Linked DNA regions of Homo sapiens: region 1 is linked to region 2. Evidence: promoter capture Hi-C in 16 types of primary human blood cells and fetal thymus (Javierre and others, 2016). All regions are on one chromosome and are shown on one strand. The core of a region is centred on a gene start or on the middle of the fragment in contact, and the rest is flanking DNA. Distances in the headings are between cores, read along the strand shown. Region 1 overlaps LINC01965 (long intergenic non-protein coding RNA 1965). Region 2 holds the start of POU3F3 (POU class 3 homeobox 3).

Region 1 (4,576 bases), core at 618-3,117, 900 kb after region 2:
TTTCATAAAGAAAGTGGTAGGCATGGACAGAATGAGAATGGCATATTAATGTAGCAAAATTATGTCCATGGGCATTAAAAGGCCATCAAACATTTTTAAAAGGTTTTACTTTGAAACAATGTCAAACATACAGTAAAATTTCAAGTACAGTGCAAGGAACATTATTTTTCTCTGAATCTTTTAAGGGTAAGATGCTGACTTGATGCCTCATTACCAACGAATATTTTAGTGCATATTCACTATAAATAAGGACATTCTTCTGCCTAACTATAATATTGTCGTCAACATCAGGAAAGTAACATTGATATGATATTAGTATTTAATTGGTAGGCCCCATTCAAGTTTTGCCGGTGGTCCCCAAAATGTTTCTTTTAACAAAGGGCTCGAGTCCAAAAACGTGTGCTGCATTCAGTTGTCATGCTTTTCAGTTTTGTTCAGTGTGGAATATTTTCTCACCCTTTCCTTGATTATCATGAAATTGACACAATCACACATGTTGGGCCAGTTATTTTGTAGAATGTCCTCAACTTGCCTTTGTCTAATGTTTCTTCAGGTTTAGATCCAGGTTGTACAACTTTGGCAGAAGAGATCAAGTGTCCTTTTTGTTGCATCCAATCAGGTGGCACCCAATTTCAATTTGTTCCCATAATACTGATGTTGTCTTTTATCACCTGATTAAGGTGGTTTCTCCCAGATGTCTTCAATGCAGAATAACTCTTTTTCCCAATGTAATTTAATAAGTATTTTGTTGGAAGATATTTGGATACCATATAAACATCTCCTTATTGAAATGTCTATCTGTTTATATCCAGATGGCCTAATCAATTCCTAATTTAATCAAAGGATTATAACCTATTATGATCATTATTTATTTTGATAATCAAATTGCACCCTATTTGACCAGCAACAGGCTTTTCAAAAGGGTTTTTATCTTGTGAATTTGACAAGTCACAATCATCTTTGGGACACTGCTTTGCTTAGGGACACAGTAAGATGTTCCAAGTTAATGTTTCACCTGTTCTGCCTCAGCACTCGATGTAGTCATTTCCCCAAGGAGCCCTGGCCAGTAGCATCATATTTAGAAGTCAATACCTAGGTGCTAGGAGAGTTACCCCTATATATTAGGGTGACACTCTTAACATAAGATATTAGGAGTGTCACCCCATTAACACTGGGGTGACTCTTCTTCCAGGTCTTGCCACTGGATAGAAATACATGTATAGACATAAACACGTGTATATCTATATCTATACATCTAAATCTATTTGTTTATATCAAAAATAATGAATTAATATTGATATCTCTATCAATTCAACATTCTAGGATACATTTTAGTTTTCACTCTTATATGTACCTCCCTTTTCAAACAGTGAAGAACCTGCTTCTCTTGTCCAAAATACACTTAAATAATCTCTCCCCCATATCCAACTCATTCATTGACACCATCCCTGTGCCTCAACTTTCCCTGCTCTGCCATCCCCACCTGGTTTACTGCCAGCACCTGTTACTTATCACATGGTTGTTCTTCCTATGCTGCTCATGTTTAAACAACCATTTTCATCATCCACATTTTTAAACACAGTCAAATTTGTGTTTTGGATGGATAAGTGTGACAACAGTGTCGCTAAAGTGAGGGAAGCAGAGATTGCCATCTGCCAGTCCCAGGGAAATATTTAATGCAAATATTAAAGCAAGAAGTGATGAGGAAAATGAGGGGGGAATAGACTCAAGATACATATCTCTGATAAAATACCCTGAAGAGAGGTGAGAGGAAATGGTTGATGAAAATACTAAGGCTTATACTTTGAGGGTAATTAAATTTTCCAAAATTGTGAATACAGGACAGAGACAAGGTTATTTATTTCTTGTTTGTCTTGTACAATTTTGTTTGATGTCATTTTAGGGTTGAGAAAGAAGATAATTTCAGATTTAGAAATGACATTTATTAGATGTTGGCAAGAACATTTTTTCAGTTGAAGTGGTCGGGTAGAACCCTGGTTGTGTTGAGTTGAGGAATGAGTGAGGTTTAGATATCTTGTAATGACAAAATAAAACAAAGGATGTCTTGCTTTTGTTTTTATAAACATTATTTTCATGATGTATTTATTGATTTCAAGTCTCTAATTTCTTTTCTCTTCTCTTAGATGAAGACAACTGTAGAATCTATTCTCTACCTAAATGAAATATTGTTTTTGTTCTCCCTCAGTCTATTCCACCTTTGCTCACCATTTCTCCCTTAGGCAAGTAGGTAAGGAGATAAATAACCAGGCTTAGATGGTGAACAACAAATAGAAAGGGAAAGGAGAGAATGATGACAGCCATTCTACTTATAGTCTTTCTTCCAGAGTCCTGAATGTTTGAATTGTATTAGTGCCCTGTTGCCACCATAACAAATTACTGTGGACTCAGTGGCTTAAAACACTTTAAATATATTATCTTACTGTTCTGGAGAACAGAAGTCTGAAATGGGTCTTATGGGCTAAAATCATGGGTTTAGGGAGCTTCATTCATTGTGGAATCTCTAGAGACCATTCTATTTCCTTGCCTTTTCCAGTTCTATAAGCCATTCACATTCCTTGGCTAGTGACCCCTTCCTCCATTACAAAGTGTATCACTCCAGCTTCTGCTCCCTTTGCCACTTCTCTTCTCTTTATGGCTTTGGCCCTTACACAGTGCTCTTATTAGGATCCTTGTGATCACATTGGGTCAATTTGAATAATCTGGGATAACCTCTTCATCTCAAGATTTTTAACTGAATCACGTGGGAGAAGTCTTTTTTTCTGTTTTTTTTTTTTCTTTATTTTATTGTATTATTATTATACTTTAAGTTTTAGGGTACATGTGCACAATATGCAGGTTAGTTACATATGTATACATGTGCCATGCTGGTGTGCTGCACCCATTAACTCGTCATCTAGCATTAGGTATATCTCCTAGTGCTATCCCTTCCCCCTCCCCCCACCCCACAACAGTCCCCAGAGTGTGATGTTCCCCTTCCTGTGTCCATGTGTTCTCGTTGTTCAATTCCCACCTATGAGTGAGAACATGCGGTGTTTGGTTTTTTGTCCTTGCGATAGTTTACTGAGAATGATGATTTCCAATTTCATCCATGTCCCTATAAAGGACATGAACTCATCATTTTTTATGGCTGCATAGTATTCCATGGTGTATATGTGCCACATTTTCTTAATCCAGTCTATCATTGTTGGACATTCGGGTTGGTTCCAAGTCTTTGCTATTGTGAATAGTGCCGCAATAAACATACTTGTGCATGTGTCTTTATAGCAGCGTGATTTATAGTCCTTTGGGTATATACCCAGTAATGGGATGGCTGGGCCAAATGGTATTTCTAGTTCTAGATCCCTAAGGAATCTCCACACTGACTTCCACAATGGTTGAACTAGTTTACAGTCCCACCAACAGTGTAAAAGTGTTCCTATTTCTCCACATCCTCTCCAGCACCTGTTGTTTCCTGACTTTTTAATGATTGCCATTCTAACTGGTGTGAGATGGTATCTCATTGTGGTTTTGATTTGCATTTCTCTGATGGCCAGTGATGGTGAGCATTTTTTCACGTGTTTTTTGGCTGCATAAATGTCTTCTTTTAGAAGTGTTTTTTTCTATGTGAGGTAAGGTATTCACTGGTTCTGGGGATTAGGACATGGACATCTTTGAAGGGAAGGTTCTATTATTAGGTCCACGAACTACACTTAACAAAGTTTTCAACACTTAGCACCATGAAAATAAGCCTATGGGCTACATACCATTGTTACATGTCATTTTTTAGTTTAATTAACTCTATAAGCTATTTACAGAATTTAGGTAACTCGGCAAAGTTCATATAGTTAGTAAATAGGAGAACTCAGAAATTCATCCAGGTCTGTGACTCAAAAACCCATAACTGTAAATAATGACTATACAAACTAGGCTAGCGTGTATTATATACTATAGCATTTTTAACACTATAGATAGTAATACCAATAATTTAAAAGAAAATCCAGGAATCCAAGAACAACAAGCAAAAAGAAGATAGACAGTAGCAGGAGAGTGTCTGGGAGCCTTCTGTCTATGCCTTGTAAATCTGGCCCTTGCACAGAGATCCTAGTTACACACTCTGGGTATGTTTCACCTTCTCTGGCATTTGGGGGTAGATGAATGGCTACTATGACCTGTACAATGATAAAGCCAGAGGAAGAGGGAGAGTCACATACATTGTAAAATGGAGGAAAATAGGACAATGCAAAAGAAAATATAGAGGAGATAGAAGGAAGGATGGCTGAGGAATAAGGAAAAAAAGAAGAAGAGAGAAAAAAAGTATCCTCTTCTTGGATCTGCAAATTATACACAATCTTGATGTTTGCATAACTGGCTTAATGATTTGGGAACAGATTGGGGTGACCATTGTGGATGGATTCTCAAGGGAGTCAATATAGTTAAACATAACTACTAAAACTCTATTTATGTCTTTCCACATAGGGGACATTAACAAATTTAATGGAATACTTCATGAAATTTTGCTTTTGGTCTTAAATATCTATATATTACTGTGTAGTTATAACAATAACTTAAGGTGTTC
Region 2 (5,108 bases), core at 741-3,240:
GGCGGCTGCGGCTGCGGCAGCGGCGGCCGCCCCCCAGCCCCCAGGGTGGCCCTGGTGTGGGGGCGGCGGCGGGGGTCCGAGGTGCGGCGGCCCGCGGTGGTGCAGCGCTGTGCCCGCGTGCAGGTCGTCGCGCCCGGCGCCGCCCTTCACGTCGGGGCCCTGCGGCGGTGGCGGCGGCGGCTGCGGTGGCTGCTGGGGGCTGCCAGCCATGCCCACGGCGCTGCCCGACCACGGCGAGCTCGCCTCCACGGCGGCGGCGGCGGCAGCGGCGGCGGCGGCGGCGGCGTGGGGCAGGGCTGTGACCCACTGGTGCGCGTGGCTCAGCATATGGCCGCCGTTGCTGGCGGCCATGGCCCCCTGCATGAAGTCGCTCTGGACCATCTTGACAGAGGACGGGTCCCCCCGGTAGGCGCCCGAGGTCACGGCGGCGCTGCCCGGCTGCATGCCGCCGCCCCCGCCCCCTGCGCCGCCCCCGCCGCCGCCGCCGCCGCCACCCCCGCCGCCGCCAGCCCCTGCCGCGTCCGAGTGCACAATAGAGCCGGCCGCGAGCAGGCTGTTCCCCGGCAGGTAGGGGTTAGAAGCCGCCGTGGCCATGCCGCTCCGCTCCCGCCACCCCACCGCCGCCACCACCGCCGCCGCCGCCGCAGCAGCAGCCGCGGCCGCCGCCGCCGCCGCCGCCGCCGCGCCCCCCGCCTCCCGCCTCCTCCCCCCCTCCTTCCCCGCCCCCGCCCCGGGCCCCCGCCGGCCCCGCCGCCTTCGCCGCCTCCTCCTCCGCCGCCGCCTCCGCCCCCGCCGCCGCCGCCGCCGCCGCGGCCCCCGGCTGCAGCTGCAAGGCCGCTCGGCAGGGCGCGGGGGTCGCCGGCCGGCCTTGGTCACCAGCAGCAGCAGCAGCCGCAGGAGCAGCGCTCTGGGGAGGGGGGCTCGCTTCTCGGGGTGCGCTCCGTGGCCACCCCCTTCAGGGGGGGTCGTGGCCGCCCCCCAGCCCCGGCGCGCTGGGCTCGCTCCAGCGGGGCTCGCCGGGCGGGGCGGGGACCTGCACTCGGGGCGCTCTCCCGGGACGCGCGGGCTCCCGCTCCTCCTCCTGTCCTCGGGCGAGCCCGGACTCTGCCCGGTCGCGGGGCTCCGTCCACCTGCTAAGTGAAGGTTTCACGGGAGATAACAAAGAAAGAAGCTGCTCCTTTCTTCCTTAGCCAAATTACGGATGACCAGCAACCGGCCCGCTCCTTCTCTTGTCCGCTCTCTCCTCTCCTCTCCTCTCCTCCTCAGGAACACATTTCACTCGTTTTCCCTTAGAGTAGTAAAACTTTTTCGTCCTTGAAGGCGTGGTGCTGCTGGCTGCTCGCGAGTGCGGAGAGGGGAGGCTGGCTCCTGCTCTCCCCCTCTGGTCCTCTCGTTTCAAGTTTTGTTCTGTCCTAGGAAAACTTCTTGCGATGGTGCATTTCTCTGAAGTTGCTATTGCCGGAGCTCTTGGTTGCCTCTGAAACAAGAGTCCTTTTTCATTCTCCTCGCAACAGTCACAGTCTGATGCGACATCTTTCCTTTTGGGCAGAAATTAGGAAACAAATATAACAAGGAAAAAATTGAACAGGAAAAAAAATGATGTCGAATCGCTCTGTTACCTTGTTGCTGACGGTTGGGGTTGGTGTTTTATTTTTTTCCCAGCAGTTGTCTGGAGAAGGAGGAGGAAGAAGAGTGCATTGGTGGAGGTGGAGGTGTGTGTGTGCATATAGGGGATCGATCCTTGATACACAACAACTCCAGTGGGCACGCTGCACGGCTCGTAGAGTGCACCGACGGCGGGCGCTGGCGCTGGCCGTGCTGGAGCAGAGTTGCAGCAGGAGCTCGCTCTGCGCCCTCGTTCGCGCTCTCTTTCCCTCTCTCACTTTTCCTCTCCCTCCCTCTCTCTCTCTCCCTCTCTCGGGCGCCCGCTCTCGCTCCGATCTGACAGTTCGCTCTCTGTCCCTCCCTCTCAGAGCGGGGACTGTCGAATGTTTACCCTCCGCCGCGAGCGCGCACCCACCACCACACTTTCCCAAATACAAGGAAGTCGAGCACCAGGGCCCCCGCTGATTGGCTACCCGCTGGGTGATTGGCAGGCTCGGAATGACTGGCTCAGGACGCGAGGCCCCCCTTCCGGCCGTTCCGATTGGTTGCTTTTTAATTTAGGCAGAGCGTCGTAGAAGCTGGAAATCTGTCGTCCTCCAGCCTCCCTCCCCCTCACCACTTTCCCCTCCCCGCCCCTCCCCCGCCGCCCCCTCCGCCACATCTTAACTCTTAGTGTCCGGCCCAGACGTTGGCGTTCCCTCGGCGGCTCTGGGCGTTCGCAATAGGTCTGGGCGGGGGGAAGAAAGGGGAGATAAAAGGGAGGGAGGGACGAGAGGGGGGAAGAGAATCAGAAGGAAAACGAAGGGGGAAACATGAAAAATAGCAACCTGCCCACCCCACCTAGTACGCGTCGGGTTGCTCACCCCCTTACCCCCGCCCCGCCAGAGATTTGTAAAGCGCGCGGCACGGATGTACCATTCAAGCTAATACCTATAGACAGATGTGTCCCCAGTGGTTTCAAAGTTTCCTCTTCCCTTCACCAGCCGGCCCCCTTCTCTGATCGGCGGGGGTGGGAAGCGGGGGCTCGCATCGCCAAGAGCTCTGGTCGTGGCCACGCTCCTTGGAAATCCGCCACCGCAACTTTCCGCAGCCGTTGCGCGCCGGCGGCAGCCCCCTTTGTTTAAGTTCTCGGATGCCATCATCTGGGAAACCTGCAGCCCAGGACCAGCGCGGTGCCCGCGCGTGCGAGACGGACCGCTCGCTGCCGCCGCTCCCTGGCTCCTCCACCCCCTCTCTCCCTCCTTCGCTCTCCCTCCCTTCCTCCCTCCTCCCTCCTCTGGGATTCGTGCAAGTAGCGTGCGTGCCCTTGTGAGTTTGGAGGGTGCCGGTCAGCGGAGCCGTGCGATGTATTTGAAAAGCAATCAGTCCGACCTTCCCCCATAGATTCATCGTAAGTGTATTCGACCCCAATGGCTTTAGGAATTCCCTGTGGCAGCAGGAGCCGGGCGAAAGAACCGGGATCGGCTAGCCGCGCCCTTCTCTGCTCCACCGCTTCCTCGTGTGTGTGTGTGTGTGTGTGTGTGTGTGTGTGTGTGATTAGCGGTGGGGGGGTTTGCTCGCTCTCTATTCTTAGGCATGGTGGTGCTTTTTTTTCTTTCCTTTCTGTCTCAGATGGATTTGCGTGGTGGATGGGGCTGGCGGCGACAAATGCTTTCTCAGCTCTAACCCAGCTGAAAGAGTTAAGGGGGATGGGAGGGGGAGTGCACCCGGTAGGCGAGAGAAGCGGGGGTGGGGTGGGGTGGGGTGGGGGGACGCGGCCAAGCGGAAACGCTGCACAGAGGAACCTCAGCGAACCAAGAAAAAAGAGAAAGTGGCAACGAAAACAAGGGCAAATTGAGCCCTCCTCGGGGATTTCCAATGAACTAACCCAACTCGGACATTCAATAAATACATGGCTCTTAATGAGCGTGCGTGTGCGTGCACCCCGCACCCCTAGCTGCGGGTGCGCCCGCTTGCGCCCGCCGCCCCCAGCCAGAGCCTGCATCTGGCAGTCCCGAGCCCGAGCGGCAGCCCAGGACGCAGCCGAGGAGCGGCCGCCGGTGCGCTCCGATTAAAATGTGAACGGGCCTGCCCTTCTCTCCCGCTGTATCGTGCCTCTGCCGAGCGCAGTTAAGTGAACTCAGTGAAAGCAGGAGTTCTCCTGCCCAGCCGCAGCCAGGCAGCCCCCGCGTGATCTCAAGATTAACACTAGACGCGTAGAATTTATGTAGGCTCTTGTCCAGCTCCTGCTTGCCGGGTGAGATACCATCGTAGGTAGGTTTTAGCAAAGCCATTATTGCCAAGGTATAGATACCAAAGGCGGTGGTAACCAAACCCCAAACAGAACGGATTTTTTTCCTCTGCGGCCCCCAAAGGTTGCTTTTTATATTTACGTATGCGTATATGTATATATAAAAGATGGAACACAGATTTCATTGAATCAATCTGAGATCTCCAGGTGCAGACGTTTGAATAGTCGGTGCCAGCACCCCGTGTTTTCCTTTCCTGCCGATTTTGCTTGGATCCGGCTCAAAAACCGAGAGAGTCTCGTGGTTTTGTTTACACTGAATGGGGAGGATAGGAACAGAGCCATGGGGCCGCCTTTCATTAATATACAGTGAGGATTTTGTCTAAATTACTGCTATGAATTTCACAGTACACGCTTTCAAAAGCAGTCTCAGGTGGCCTGATGAAACGTGATAGCGCCTCTGCAAACAGATCCACTTTCTTTCTTTTCAAGAGGGTGTGTGTGCGCGTATGGGAAGCCCCCCAAAACGTTGTGCTCCTCGATAACAGAAACACACTTCTGTTCCGAGGTCTGTCCCCTTCTTCCTCCCCCCCTTTCGTCGTACTTAATTCTCGAATCGCTCCCCGGCCTCTCTCCCCCCTCCACGCTGCCCCACCCCATCCGCCCCCTCCCTTTGCGAGTGTGATTGTTTTGTCTGGAAAAAAAAAATCCAAAGTATATAACAAGGGGAGAACAGTTAGTGCTGATTTTCATTTGCATACATTTTCATATATTTTGGTGAAAATAATAGACTAGTGGAGAGCTGGGCTTCGAGGCGTCAGTGTGAAGGGAAGGCTAAGGACGCATCGGTGCTGGAGAGTTGAGAATATGCCTTCCCCTCCACCCCCAACCCAGTCACCTTATTTGAAAAAAAATTAAAAAACACCTTTTATTTAAAAACCTAACCCTGGAAGTTTGCTCGGTAAGTGTTTTTTCATTTTCTTTCCCTGCTTTCCTCTTCTTTTTCCCCTCCTTTTTGGCTTATTTATTTATGTTCTTGTAGGTTTGGGAGCTTATTTTCATTGCTTGGGACAAGAGAGGGTTCACAGAGCAACTGTCTGAAGGAAGGAAGGAAGGGAAGATGTGTTGGGGGGGAGTTAAAAAAATCCAACCCTGCTAAAATATTACATAAAAAGATGGACTCAGTCCAAAGCCCCACACAGCAAAAGCCACTTTACTTTGGAGGGGTGGGGGGAAAATGCTATTCATTGTAATTGTTGATCGTGAAGGTGGGGTG

Evidence for each region. Contacts are between HindIII fragments. The CHiCAGO score rates a contact against its expected background, and 5 or more counts as called.
Region 1: a fragment that was not itself captured here is called in contact with the fragment with the promoter of POU3F3 in region 2 in 1 of 17 cell types (megakaryocytes); the score reaches 5.6 in megakaryocytes.

Annotation. Positions count from the first base shown.
Region 1 is chr2:103,948,493-103,953,068 of GRCh38, reverse strand. All of the region lies in intron 1 of LINC01965 (long intergenic non-protein coding RNA 1965), which reads right to left. Among named protein-coding and RNA genes, the nearest start is that of LINC01965, 76 kb to the right of the region's middle. The HindIII fragment of the contact is 8,352 bases long and covers 1-4,576 here.
Region 2 is chr2:104,850,997-104,856,104 of GRCh38, reverse strand. It overlaps POU3F3 (POU class 3 homeobox 3), which reads right to left and starts at 1,990. Exons shown (of 1, transcript NM_006236.3): 1 at 1-1,990. The coding sequence starts at 594. PANTR1 (POU3F3 adjacent non-coding transcript 1) reads left to right here and starts at 4,629. Exons shown (of 4, transcript NR_037883.1): 1 at 4,629-4,793. RefSeq lists enhancers at 1,797-2,386, 5,025-5,108 and a silencer at 3,595-3,644. The HindIII fragment of the contact is 8,766 bases long and covers 1-5,108 here.